Regions from separate parts of the Homo sapiens genome. Here region 2 is linked to region 1. Evidence: promoter capture Hi-C in human tissues and cell types (Jung and others, 2019). All regions are on one chromosome and are shown on one strand. The core of a region is centred on a gene start or on the middle of the fragment in contact, and the rest is flanking DNA. Distances in the headings are between cores, read along the strand shown. Region 1 holds the start of DUOX2 (dual oxidase 2). Region 2 overlaps SPG11 (SPG11 vesicle trafficking associated, spatacsin).

Region 1 (6,907 bases), core at 200-2,699:
GCACTTTCACCTCCCTAGCCCCATTTCCCATCTACCCTAACAGCACCTCCCCTCCACCCCCACTTCCTGGCACTCTTCCACCACCTTCACTCCCCTAGCTGTCTGGCGCCTGGTCCTGGTTCTGCCTCCTGGTCCAGTCACTGCTTGGTGAGGCTCAGTGAGTCCAGAAGTGCTAGGCACGCAGGGGTCACCTCCCTCAGAAGAGGGAGGCCCCAGCCTGATCTCCGAGGGGAGGAGGTGGGAATGCAGATACTCCTAGGTGCACCAGTTCCAGGGAAAGCAACACAGATTAAGATGCAGAAAAGCTGGGTCCTCCCAGAACTGAAAAATGCACAACCTAGGTTCTGGGAGAGGGGGAAAGTCTAAGACAATGCACCCAGTTGGCTCCAACTTCTAATCCAATGTGGGAGTCTCAGTCCTGAGGATGAGGCACCCATACACATGTGTCTCAACCCAGTGCAAAGGGGAACACTGCAGTCTGAGCTGCTGGCATCTGTCCTTTTGGCCTGAAGGTCATCACCCACCGGATGGGATGAGAGTGCAGCTTTAGTCCTGGGAGAGGTGGGAGGCCCTCCAGCACAAGAAGCCTAGACTGTTCCTCAGGATTACTGGACTGGGTGCCCATTCTCTGCAGCAGCCTTCCCAAGGACCCAGCTGGGGTCCTTCTCCAGGATATCCTGGATGGGGAGCTCTCCCTATCCTTGGAAAGGGGTGCTTGCTGCACCAGACTCCTGACTTCACTCCACCTGAGCCTCAATTCGACTATTCATGGAGGCTCTTGTACAGTCTTACCTGTCCTGGGTCCCTCAGGAGACAATCTGCCCATGAGCCTTCCCCCACTCTACCTGCACTATGAGGACACCCTTACCGAGTGGCCACGGATCCCCGGCAAGATGAGCAGGAAGCTTGCTGCTAGAGCCAAAAACACTAGAATAACGATGAGCAGTGGAACGCTGAAGCCTGCGGCATGCCGGGGCTGGGGGTAAAAAGGCAGTACGCCGTTCCACAGGGTCATGCTGCACGCCGGCCGAGTGCTGCACGCAGGCGGGCAGGCAAGCCAGCAAGCTGGGGCTGCCTGGACGCGGGAGAGCGCGTCCTTGGCGTCTCTTTGCGTACAAGGCTGGGACCGAGTGGGCTGGTGAAGTCTGAGTCCTGCACCTCTCCGTTAAGGAAGCGTGGAGGTGGGCTGCTCTCAACGCTCTGGGGTTGGTACCGACAGAGTTTTTCTAGCCGGCGAGCGAAACTATTTCTCACTGTCTGTAGCCGTTACTTTCCTGGTTCTGCGGGTTGGCGCTGAGTTTGGAAGTCGCGCGGGACCCCTTTTATAGCAGCGTGGGCGACGTGCCACACGGGTGTCCCAGCCCAGGGGCTGGTCTGAGCTGGAAGAGGTTGTGCAAATAAGGGCCCCACCTCCACGGCAGGAGGGTGAGCCCTAGGTCCAGATGCTCACACTGGCGCAGGTCTGTCCTGAGCCGACACCTGCACAGTGGCGAGACCAAGGACCCAGAGAGAAAGGTGAGAGTGCAGCCGGGGAGGCTGAGGATCGGCGGAGCTGGAAGAGTGAGGGTGAAGGCAAGAAGTAGAGCACAGAAGCAAAGATTTTAAGAGGAAAGAAGACATCTGAACCCAACACCACCCTAAACCACAGGTTAGACCAGAGTTTGGGATCTGACCCTAGCCCTCGCCCATCATGCACAGGCGTTCATTGCAGAAGGGGAGTTTATTGGGGAAGGGGGGATTCATTGTGGAAGGGTGCTGCAGTCCCTCACTCCCAGGTCAGTAACCTTTTTCCCTTCCCTGCCTCCTGGAGGAGAAGCGGAGCCTGACGGATCGGGGGCGGGTGGAGGTGAAACATTGGAGACATTGGGCACACCCTGGGAGGCTTGACCAGTCCTGCCCTGGACTGACATGCCCCAGAAGACTCCTGCCCAGTGGGTTCCTATGGTCGGGGGTTAACTCTCTGATGGGGTGGCGGATGGGGAACAGTGTCAATGCCTCCAGAGCTGCCAATTGTCCTGGAAAGAGTGGCGTTTGGATGAAGGTCCTCGGTGATGCTTCTAACAGCTACCTTCCAGAAGTGGAAACAGCTGGTGCTCCTCCTCCAGTACTAGCTGTAGGAACAAGAGGGGAGGCATAGAGGACGCCCTAACAGTGGCTTTCGCATACCACCTACCACCCCCACCCTCACCCCGCAGGCTGCAGGGTTGGCATGCTCCGTGCAAGACCAGAGGCACTGATGCTCCTGGGAGCTCTTCTGACTGGATCCCTGGGTCCATCGGGCAAGTATCAGGCTCCTCTAGCGGCGGGGTGTTCCCCAGGATCCCTGGGAGGTGGGGCGGGGAGAGGTGCGGCAAGCGGCTCCCTGAGACTGGAAGGTCATTTCGCCGTGCAGCTCAGCGGGATGGGAAACTTCCCAGTGCGGCCCGACACTTGGGTCCGGTTAGGGGCGCTCCGCGAGCTGGGGAAGGACTGGCCAAGGCCTTCGTTGCTCGGGAGGGGTAGCTGGGAGCGTAGTGCTGAGGAGGCCCTTCTCTGTGCCCACAGGCAGTCAGGACGCACTCTCACTGCCCTGGGAAGTGCAGCGCTATGACGGCTGGTTTAACAACCTGAGGCACCACGAGCGTGGTGCTGTTGGTGCGTTCTGGGGGCCCGGGCGTGCTGGGGCCGTGGCTCGCGAAGGGCCGGGGCGCGAAAGGCCCTGAGCGGGGAATCTGCGGGGAACACGCGCCCAGCAGCTCCGCTGCCTACACAGCGCAATCTTATGCGCTCCCGGGGCCAAGAGACCCTTGAGGGAAGGTTCTGTCAGTGAAGTGGGATGGGGGTTGAGGGAGGCTTAGGGAGAGGTTTGGGGGATCCTAGGGGATGGAGTGCTTAGACAGAGCCCCGCTCCCTGCCTCCGCAGGCTGCCGGTTGCAGCGCCGCGTACCAGCCAATTACGCCGACGGTGTGTATCAGGCTCTGGAGGAGCCGCAGCTGCCCAACCCGCGCCGGCTCAGCAACGCAGCCACGCGGGGCATAGCCGGCCTGCCGTCGCTCCACAACCGCACCGTACTGGGGGTCTTCTTTGGTGAGGGCAAAGGGGGAGACCAGTGGGGTTGATCTGGCGCTCTGCTCAGCCTGGGGGAGGGGCCAGATCCCGTCTGCGAGTCCACAGGAGACCCATCCGACTCCCAACCACTTCCTCTCTACGCAGCACTTCGAGACTGCCTTCATCTCGGAGAGATTTTGGGATGTTGATACAGAGATATTTGCTCTGTATCTAACCTTTCTCTTACGCCTTATTCCAACCTAGGGGTGTCACTGGACCCCCATTATAGCTCTTGGGAACTGAGCTCCCCAGCCACCGCTCTCCTCACCGTGTGTTTGTAACCATTTTACCTCCCCCTAGCCCAGAGGGAGGAGGACTGACTTGGGGTACCCCTACATAAATTATATCATTTTGATTCTCACAACAGCTTTATGAATTGAGTAGGAAGGGAACTCACTATAGTCTTACTTTGCAGATTAGAAAATTGAGGCTACCTGGGGCTAACGTGCAGAGCTGGTGGCGGAGCTGGCACTGGGACCTCTGTCTTTTGGCTCCTGAGGACACTTGGAGGCCGCCCTGGCCGTGGGGAGGGCGCAATACGGACGGTTTGTCACGTATTGGCGCCCCATGCCCGCAGGCTACCATGTTCTTTCCGACGTGGTGAGCGTGGAAACGCCCGGTTGCCCCGCCGAGTTCCTCAACATCCGCATCCCACCTGGAGACCCCGTGTTCGACCCCGACCAGCGCGGGGACGTGGTGCTGCCCTTCCAGAGGAGCCGCTGGGACCCCGAGACCGGACGGAGTCCCAGCAACCCCCGGGACCTGGTGAGGCGGGGAAGGCGGCGGGAAGGGACCGCACCCCAGCCAGGTGGGGCCTGGGCTTCGGGCCTGGCAGGGCCTGGAGGGGAGAGGCGCCCACTCCCCAGCCGCGGACACCCGCCGGGCCCCGGCCTTCCCTGGCCCGCCGCCGCCTCTCGACCCGGGCTCACCCGCCGCGTGCCCCGCAGGCCAACCAGGTGACGGGCTGGCTGGACGGCAGCGCCATCTATGGCTCCTCGCACTCCTGGAGCGACGCGCTGCGGAGCTTCTCGGGGGGACAGCTGGCGTCGGGGCCCGACCCCGCTTTCCCCCGAGACTCGCAGAACCCCCTGCTCATGTGGGCGGCGCCCGACCCCGCCACCGGGCAGAACGGGCCCCGGGGGCTGTACGGTGAGGCCACAGGGGCGGGACGGGGCCGGCTGGGGGTCTGCGAGTGTGGGCTCCCCCGATCACGCTACCGCTCGTCTCCTCCCCTGCGCCCCCACGTCGGATGCAGCCTTCGGGGCAGAGAGAGGGAACCGGGAACCCTTCCTGCAGGCGCTGGGCCTGCTCTGGTTCCGCTACCACAACCTGTGGGCGCAGAGGCTGGCCCGCCAGCACCCAGACTGGGAGGACGAGGAGCTGTTCCAGCACGCACGCAAGAGGGTCATCGCCACCTACCAGGTCAGCCGTCCGCGCCCCGCGACGTCCTCCCTTCCGCGTGCAAGCCCACGGGAGACTCCGCTGCCCCATGGAGCTCCCCATCTGTGGACAACCGCCACCCAGAAACCCCTCCCCAGACAGCCGAGGTCTAGGGAAGCCCCTGTAAATGATAGGGAGGCACGCGCTGTTTATAGGAGAAATCTGGCTGGTGATGATTATTTATCACCTCCCCAACCCCCACTCCCTCAAATCCCCTGGTTCCTTGTGGGGACAGGCCTCACACTGCTCCTGTCTGAGTTGCTTCTCCCATGATTGACCCTTCCTGGTCTCATCTCCACACGGAAGCCGTCCTTGGGCTCAGACCCTTCCAGGCCCCACACCATCCAACTTGTGCCTCCCCTCGCCCCTCTCTGCCCCTCAGAACATCGCTGTGTATGAGTGGCTGCCCAGCTTCCTGCAGAAAACACTCCCGGAGTATACAGGTGAGGGAGCGGGGAAGGAGGACACCTGTGCGGAGAATCCTGAGGGGAAGGAGACAGGTGCCTGTGATGGGAGGATGTGGAGGCAAGAAGCCTGTCTCCCCATCATCACCGTCTCCTTCCTGCAGGATACCGTCCTTTCCTAGACCCCAGCATCTCCCCGGAATTTGTGGTGGCCTCTGAGCAGTTCTTCTCTACCATGGTGCCCCCTGGTGTCTACATGAGGTGAGGGAGGGGTTGGCAGAGAGGGGCACCACACTAAGAAAGGTGCAGAATGAGCTGCCTTGGGGGCTGGGGCCTTTCACACTCCTTCGCAGTTTCACTAGAGAAGGGGAAGCAAAAATTTGGGGCCCTGAAACAGAACCCTGGGGTAAGATGTGTAGGCTTAGTAGGGAAATCTCTCCAGCTCTCCTAAGGGCTGAAATTTGGTGGCTGGGTGTAGGATTTGTCTAGCAGCTGGGTCATTCCCTTCCCTCCTCTCCCCACCCTACCTGGACTAGGAGCGCACTCTATCTTCAGTAAACGCACATCACCAAATCTCTGCCGTGTTCAAGGAAGTTCCTGGGCCACTGCTCAATCCTAGTGAACCCCCACTGAGTCCCTCAGCCCACTCAACCCCATCTTTGATTCTTCTCCAAATTCCCTCACCACATCCTTTGTTCTCAATTTCAGAAATGCCAGCTGTCATTTCCGGAAGGTCCTGAACAAGGGTTTTCAAAGCTCCCAAGCTCTCAGGGTCTGCAACAACTACTGGATTCGGGAGGTCAGACTGGGGTCAGGGTCAGGGGAAGATGGGTCAAGGTCAGTCTCTTCACACAGGCTGGGAAAAGCAACAATCCCAGTTCTTGAGTGTTGCTGCCCCAGGTTCATGGGAGATGAAGGGTAGAGGAAATTATCCGGGGACAACAGTTCAAGAGAGTCTGGGACTGGCCAAGGGCCCTTTGTCCTGGGGTACTAAAGTGGTCCAGGCTGAGAGAGACCGAGTTTTGGGTAGAGGCCTATCTTGAGTGCATTGTTTACTTCCAGAACCCCAATCTGAACAGTACCCAGGAGGTGAATGAGCTGCTGCTGGGAATGGCCTCCCAGATTTCGGAGTTGGAGGACAACATAGTGGTTGAAGATCTGAGGGGTGAGCTCAGAGCCAGAAGGGGTGGATGGTAAGGGACCAGGAAGCCTGAGGATCCCTCTGGGTTCATCAATAGCAGACCTAGGGCGCTCACGATGCAGGAACACAGATACAAACACAGACTTCAAGGAGCCATAAGAAGAAAATGAACTTTGAACTTTTTTTTTTTTTTTGCTTAATTTACACTTTTGTGTTGCTTTTATTTTAAATTAACTATGTCTGAGTATTGGGGAGGGGTGGTACCACAATCTCTTTGGTGCTTAATTAGGTCTCTAAAGGTTTTCATTCAGCCCTGTCTTGAAACTAGGGAGGCATAGGACAGGGAATTTACTGCTTGGTGACTAGAACAGTCTTGAGTCTTAGAGGAAGGGTCTTACTGGAAAAACTGGCTCTGATCACCCATGGTGACATTGGCCTTGCAGCAAGGCAAGGTCAGCATGGGCACAGATCTCATGTGGATCACTGGGGGTAGCCAGGAGGGAAGAACCGTAGTGCCAATAGTCAGATACAAGGCTGCAGGGCAAAAAAGGATGGAGAGGACAAAGCCCATAGTCTAGTCTTCTCTCCTCTTCAGATTACTGGCCTGGCCCTGGCAAATTCTCCCGTACAGACTATGTGGCCAGCAGCATCCAACGTGGCCGAGATATGGGGCTGCCCAGCTATAGCCAGGCCCTGCTGGCCTTTGGGCTGGACATCCCAAGGAACTGGAGTGATCTCAACCCTAATGTGGACCCCCAGGTCAGGAATAGTAATGATAATAATGGCAGCTAAAGCTTTCCTATGGCAATACTGTTCCAAACCCTTTACATATGT
Region 2 (7,505 bases), core at 3,279-5,778, 510 kb after region 1:
TCAGCCTCCCGAGTAACTAGGATTACAGGTACCCACCACCACGCCTGGCTAATTTTTTGTATTTTTAGTAGAGGTGGGGTTTCACCGTGTTAGCCAGGATGGTCTCGATCTCCTGACCTCGTGATCCACCCACCTCGGCCTCCCAAAGTGCTGGGATTACAGGCGTGAGCCACCGCACCCAACCAATACATATTTATAAAATTGGAAACCTGTATTTAATTTGAATGTTGACTTCTTTTTTCTTATGGTTTTACCACTGAACAGGGATGTAAGAACACTGTGTGGTGACTTGGCTTCTGCACCAGGCCAGAGTAAAATTTCCCTCTAGAATGAATTTTCTCTTATACGCAGTCTCCACACTAAGCCCCAACGTGCTAAAAAATTATGGTCTTATTTGAATAAAAAACTCAAATGTGCTCATTTCAGTACTGTGTGCCTTACAAACGCTCAGCAAATATCTAATGAATGGCTTTATATGTAATTACAAGTTGTCAAAGTCGCTCTGTTCTCACAAGAATACAAATAGGGCATGTGACAGTTTTTTTAATCTCAAAGAGGGAATGTACTTTCAGGTAAGACCTTTGTAAGATGACAGATACCTCCAGGGTCTTCAAGCCTTTTTTTTTTTTTTAGGAATCAGGTCACAATGTGAAAAGTCCTTGGAATTCCATGAGAAAACACAACTTTATTTCAGAAATAAGCTTTGAACTTTGAAAACAAGAGCAGGTACACTGTTTTCCAGAACTAGTTTCTGGAACCAGATCACAGTGTTGTCTTTTTTAAAAAATAGGTAGTAAGTGGTTAAGAGACAATTGAATAGTACGTGACAGGAGTGACTATTTCTTTCTAACTGGAGTCAGCCCTCCATATCCTTGGGATCCACATCCAAGGATTCAACCAACCTCAGATGGGAAATATTCAAAAGAACAAACAAACAATTTAAAAAAAAGAAAAACAATAGAACAATTAAAAATAATACCAATTTAAAAATACAGTATAACAACTATCTACATGGCATTTACATTTATTGGGTATTATAAGTGATCTAGAGTAATCTAAAGTGTATGGGGAAATGTGCATAGGCTATATATAAATACTATGCTATTTTACAGGGACTTGAGCATCCTTCTGTGGATTTTGGTATCCAAGGGTTTCAGGAACCAATCCCCCATGGATACCAAGAGATGACTAGACTCATATCAAAATATCTTCTGACTTCAAATTTATCTAAAAAAAGACATTTTTGTTTGATATTTTCTTGGGTTTAGAGGAACTTTAAACTGAGCTATTCTGCTGGTCTTATTAATAGAAGGATGGTGCCATCTTTCTAAGATATTCATGCTCTATGAATACAACATCAGAAAGTAAGTGATAACAAATGGAGGTTATAGGAGGGTAATTAGTGTAGAGGGAAAAATGTTCTAAAATTACCTGTTGGAGGCCAGGTGCAGTGGCTCATGCCTGTAATCCTAACACTCAGGAAGCTGAGGTGGAAGGATTGCTTGAGGCGAGGAATTCAAGACCAGCTTGGACAACATAGCAAGACACTGTCTCTACAAAAAATTAGCCGGGTATAGAAGATAAGGGTCAAGAAGGTGAAAGAAAAATGTTAAAATTAGCCAGGCATAGTTGTGTGTGCCTACAGTGCTACAGGAGGCTGAGGCAAGAGGATTGCTTGAGTTAAGGAAGTCAAGGCTGCAGTGAGCTATGGTCATGCCACTGCACTCCAGCCTGGGCAACAGCAAGACCCTGTGTCCAAAAAAAAAAAAAAAAAAAATTGCCTGTTGGAGAAAGGTACAGTGAGTTGGCTTTGGTGAACAGAGGACTCATATAAATATGTTAAAAGGGATTTTATTGCATAATGACCTTTTGTGAATGAATTTAAAAGCTCCTTTTGCAGTTATTTAAAGACTTTACAACTATAGGGTTATTGGCTATTGCCTTTCTGAACTTAAAGGATCATCAAATACAGAATTAAAACCAGGATGGTTCAACATACACAAATTAATAAATGATACACCACATTAACAGAATGAAAGACAAAAACCAGGCCAGGCATGGTGACTCATGCCTATAATCCCAGCACTTTGGGAGGCCGAGGTGGGTAGATCACGAGGTCAGGAGATAGAGACCATCCTGGCTAACACGGTGAAACCCTGTCTCTACTAAAAAATACAAAAAAAAATTAGCCAGGTATTGTGGCAGGCGCCTGTAGTCCCACCTACTTGGGAGGCTGAGGCAGGAGAATGGCGTGAATACGGGAGGCGGAACTTGCAGTGAGCCAAGATCACGCTATTGCACTCCAGCCTGGGCAACAGAGCAAGACTCCATCTCAAAAAAAAAAAAAGACAAAAACCATATGATCATATCAATAGATGCAGAAAAAGCATTTAGGAAAATTCAACATCCTTTCATAATAAAAACTCTCAACAAATTAGGCATAGAAGGAATGCATCTCAACATTATAAAGGCCATGTATGACAGTCTCACAGCTAATATACTCAGCAGTGAAAAGTTGAAAGCTTTTCCTCTAAGATCAGAAATAAGACAAGGATGCCCACCCTTGCCACTTCTGTTCAACATAGTAGTTGAAGTCCTAGCCAGAGCATTTAAGCAAAAAAAAAGAAAGGCATCCAAATCAGAAAGAAAGAAGTGAAGTTGTCATTGTTTGCAGATGGCATGATTTTGTATATAGAAAATCCTAAAGACTCTACCAGTAAAACTGTTAGAACTAATAAACAAATCTAAGAAAGTTGCAGGATATTAAATCAACATACAAAAATCAGTGTTTCTATATACCAACAGCAAACTGTCTGAAAAAGATAATGAACAAAACTATCCCATTTCTATTTTTTAATAGAACACAAAATACTTCGGAATAAATTTAATCAAAGAGGTCAAAGATCTGTACATATTAAACTATCAAACATTGGTGAAAGAGGCTGGGTGGGCTGGGCGCGGTGGCTGGCTGGACACAGTGGCTCACGCTCATGCCTGTAATCGCAGCACTTTGGGAGGTCAAGGTGGGCAGATCACCCGAGGCCAGGAGTTCGAGACCAGCCTGGCCAACATGGCGAAACCCCGTCTCTACTGTAAGTACAAAAATTAGCTAGGTGTGGTGGCACGTGCCTCTAAGTCCTAGCTACTTAGGAGGCTAAGGCAGGAGAATCACTTGAACCCAGGAGGCGGAAGTTGCAGTGAGCTGAGATTGTGCCATGGCACTCCAGCCTAGACAGCCGAGCAAGATTCTATTTAAAAAAAAAAAAAAAAAAAGAAGAGGCTGGGCGCACGCATGTAATCCTAGCACTCTGGGAGGCCAAGGCAGGTGGATTGCTTGAGCTCAGGATTTTGAGACCAGCCTGGGCAACATGGTGAAATCTCATCTCTACCAAAAATACTAAAGAAAGCTGGGTGTGGTGGCATGCACCTGTGGTCCCAGCTACTTGGGAGGCTGAAGTGGGAGGATCACCTGAGCCCAGGAAGTGGAGATTGCAGTGAGCCAAGATTATGCCACTGCACTCCAGTCTGGGCGACAGAGCCAGACCCTGTCTTAAAAAAAAAAATAAAAAATCAATTATGTTGTATACTTTAAATATATACAATTCTTAAATAAGTTGCTCAAGGTCACGCAGCTAGTGGTGTCAAGACCAGGAATCTCACACTTTTTTTTGTTTTTTTGAAATGAAGTTTCACTCTTGTTGCCCAGGCTGGAGTGCAATGGCGCGATCTTGGCTCACCACAACCTCTGCCTCCCAGGTTCAAGTGATTCTCCTGCCTCAGTCTCCCAAGTAGCTGGGATTACAGGCATGCACCGCCACATCTGGCTAATTTTGTATTTTTAGTAGAGACGGGGTTTCTCCAACTTGGTCAGGCTGGTCTCAACTCTTGACCTCAGGTCATCCGCCTGCCTTAGTCTCCCAAAGTGCTGGGATTACAGGCGTGAGCCACCGTACCCGGCTGAAGCATCATTTCTTACCAGAGTTTTTATGCAACTTCTCAGGTACACATCTTTGTATAAAATGAAGGCTACCTCTATACACTGAAGTAAAATAAATCAGATTTTGGTAGATTCAAAGTGATACGTAGTGATGCAAAATAATTACAGCAACCAGTTTTATCATTAGAGAGTTCCATGTGCAAATCTGAAATTAATTATGGTGATATACAGATAATTAATATTGTTTTACTTTCCCCCTAGATGCATGGAGTCATCTCCCACATTTCTCTAGCCCTGACCTGGTTAATAAATATGCTATAGTGGAACGTCTGAATTTTGCTTATTATTTACATAATGGGCGGCCATCATTTGCATTTGGTACTTTTCTGGTCCAGGAATTAATCAAGAGCAAGACTCCCAAGCAGCTGTGAGTATTTAAAATATAATTTTGTCTGGGTACAGTGGTTCACACCTGTAATCCCAGCACTTTGGGAAGCAGGAGGATCACTTGAGCCCAGGAGTTCAAGGAAGCAGTGAGCTATGGTCATGCCACTGCACTCTAGCCTGGGTGACAGTGAGGCTCTGCCACTAAAACAAAAAAAGTAAAATAAAATATAATTTGTATTCTAAAAAAGGGCATATCTGTATAATGTTTTACATGTACATTGAAAAACATACTGGAAACATACCACAGTTAACAGTGATTACATTTGGATGGTGATTATTGTTGTTTTCATTTGTGCTTCCCTGTGTGTCCTAAGTTTTTGGCATTTAGTGTGTGTGATTTTTGTTAATTGGAAAAAACATAAATATGTTTTGAAAAATAATAAAATTTAAAATCATACAGGAGTTTGTCAAATATTAGCAGTTAAAGAGGGAATTCTAAGGGAGGGAGAACGTTAGGACAAATACCTAATGCATGCGGGGCTTAAAACCTAGATGACGGGTTGATAGGTGCCACAAACTGCCATGGCACATGTATACCTATGTAACCTGCATGTTCTGCACATGTATCCCAGAACTTTAAAAAAAGGGAATTATATGATGAGATGTGAATTCTATATTTAATGTCTTTAATAATTCAATTATTCATTTTTATAAGGCACAGAATTGAGAGGAGCATTTACTATAATGAACAGCTAAATATAGATTTACTTTATTGGTTTGTTTTATAATTAACAAAGTAATACCTTTTTTATGGTAAAGTATTCAAGTAGTTCAGAAAGGTGAAAATGAAAGATAGCCCTCAGCTTCCCATTCCACATGGTAAAAACATGGTTAATAATGTCTTGTGTGGGCTGAGCACGATGGCTCACACCTGTAATCCCAGCATTTTGGGAGGCCAAGGTGGGCGGATCACAACCTCAGGAGTTTGAGACCAGCCTGGCCAATATGGTGAAACCCTGTCTCTACTAAAAATACAAAAATTAGCCAGGCATGGTGGTGGGTGCCTGTAGTCCCAGCTACTCAGGAGGCTGAGGCAGGAGAATCGCTTGAACCCGGGAGGCAGAGGTTGAAGTGAGCCAAGAATCACACCACTGCACTCCAGTCTGGGCTACAAAACGAGACTCCATCTCAAAAAAATAATAATAAAAATAAAAAATAGTAATTTCTTGTGTCTTTCCCAAATTTTCTATTCCTATAAAAGGCCTATATGAGTTTTTTTAAATGTGCTTCATGATGTCAAACTTACATTTAAGTGGCATTGATATTCTTCGTAGTTTGTATACGTACTCATAATTGATAAGATCACAAGTTGGCAGTCTTTCAGAAGTTGTACTTCATGTCTTGATGAAGTTGGAAGCAAGAATAGTTTAGACTATGACTAAGCGTTTTAGAAAGTCAGCTTAAGGGAAGCGGGGGGCTCTTGGGCCAAAAGACAACTGAAAAGCTACCAGGAACCTAAACGGGTATGTGCAAGGGGCAAAAGGTAAGGGAGAGGAGGCCACAAATCACATGGCTGGCACTCCCTCTGTCACTGATTTAATTCCATTTGCTTTTCCTGGTGAGACATAATTTTCATGTGCTGATGTGATTTTGATTCCTTTCTTTTTCAGGATCCAGCAAGTAGGCAATGAAGCCTATGTTATAGGGCTCTCCTCCTTCCACATACCTTCAATAGGAGCTGCATGTGTTTGTTTCTTAGAATTGCTTGGCCTTGACAGCCTCAAGCTCAGAGTTGATATGAAAGTGGCCAATATAATTTTGAGCTACAAGTGCAGAAATGAAGATGCTCAGTACAGCTTTATCAGAGAGTCTGTAGGTACAGCACCTTTTATCTGGCCTGCTTTGTTTAGAGAAGGTGTGACGAGGTCTAAGGCATTGAATTGTGAGTGTTTGGGGAGAAAATGGTTATCTTCTTGGTTTTATCCTTTTCCTGCAGAGTGTGTGTTCTTTGTCTCACTTTCTTGGGCACTTTAATTGGGTTCTGAAATGGCCCTGAGCCACACTATTCAAACAGAAATGCTCAGGTTTTGACTTTTTCTCTTCACCATATTTTGTTGTTTATATTTCTTACAGCCGAAAAACTATCTAAACTAGCTGATGGTGAAAAGACAACCACAGAAGAATTGCTTGTTCTCTTAGAAGAAGGTACATGGAACAGCATTCAGCAACAGGAAATAAAGAGGTTTGTGAGTTGCAGTCTCAGCCTCTTTTCTAACAAGCTTATTGTGCCAACCTGTGTTTGCCTAGTTTTTCTTTGAACAACTCTGGTGTTTTCACTAAATCCCCCTAGACCTTATCTTCTTCTTTATCTAGCATGTAGCAGATACTCAGTAAATGAATAATGATTTTAATTGCATCTTGCCATCAGTGAAAAGAGGGTGAAGATAGCAATTCTCTCTTTAGAGATGGACTTACCAAGAGATGGAGAGCAGCTTTGTCTCCTCCACTGCCCTGCTAGTCAGAGAAGTCTTTTAAATGGTACATGTTGAAATGCCAGAAGATGTGGGTTCAGATGTCTTGGAGGATTGGAAAAAAATGAAGAAGAGGATGATGTAGGATGGGTCTTCCAAAATTTGACTTTAAGTCATGTCCTTACTTTTTTCATTTTATTATGTCAGTTGATAATGGAAGCTGAAGTGACCGTATGTAAAAGCACCTCCTTACACTTCATGCCTTCTTTATGCTGCCCCACTGGGGCTGACCTAACCACTCCAGACCCTGAGAACGCACCCTTTTTCTGTACATCCTATCACTGATTCTGTTCTTGGCAGAATCCTGCTTGCAGCAGGAACATGTACCCTACCCCTGGTGAGGAGGCCCAGGCACCCACCAGGCCTCTGAGTACTCTAAAGTGAATAGAGCAAGAGAAATAAGTGCTCAGAAAGTTTCTTGACTGACAACTTCCTCAGTTCTCCTAAGGATGCTACACAGCCAGTATAAATAGGTACTTGATTGATGACTTGGGGAAGGAATGAATTGTGCCAGTATGCTAAGCTAGCTATTCTGCCTTATGGGTGAAAAAGTCTACTGTTTTTGGCCAGGCACAGTGGCTCACACCTGTAATCCCAGCACTTCAGGAATGTGAGGCGGACGGATCACCTGAGGTTGGGAGTTCAAGACC

What was found. The method cuts DNA at HindIII sites, captures the fragments that hold promoters and counts their contacts. A contact is called where the count stands out against the background at its distance.
Region 2: a fragment that was not itself captured here is called in contact with the fragment with the promoter of DUOX2 in region 1 in 1 of the 25 tissues and cell types used here (lymphoblastoid cells).

Annotation. Positions count from the first base shown.
Region 1 is chr15:45,108,714-45,115,620 of GRCh38, reverse strand. DUOX2 (dual oxidase 2) reads left to right here and starts at 1,449. Exons shown (of 34, transcript NM_001363711.2): 1 at 1,449-1,648; 2 at 2,196-2,279; 3 at 2,545-2,634; 4 at 2,903-3,067; 5 at 3,666-3,853; 6 at 4,036-4,237; 7 at 4,344-4,510; 8 at 4,911-4,971; 9 at 5,097-5,193; 10 at 5,641-5,731; 11 at 5,995-6,097; 12 at 6,669-6,832. The coding sequence starts at 2,210. It overlaps DUOXA2 (dual oxidase maturation factor 2), which reads right to left and starts at 1,295. Exons shown (of 6, transcript NM_207581.4): 1 at 869-1,295. The coding sequence starts at 1,015. RefSeq lists enhancers at 2,677-3,212, 4,055-4,881. The HindIII fragment of the contact is 12,302 bases long and covers 1-6,907 here.
Region 2 is chr15:44,597,326-44,604,830 of GRCh38, reverse strand. It overlaps SPG11 (SPG11 vesicle trafficking associated, spatacsin), which reads left to right. Exons shown (of 40, transcript NM_025137.4): 21 at 4,199-4,364; 22 at 5,995-6,200; 23 at 6,458-6,566. Among named protein-coding and RNA genes, the nearest start is that of SPG11, 63 kb to the left of the region's middle. The HindIII fragment of the contact is 5,831 bases long and covers 1,613-7,443 here.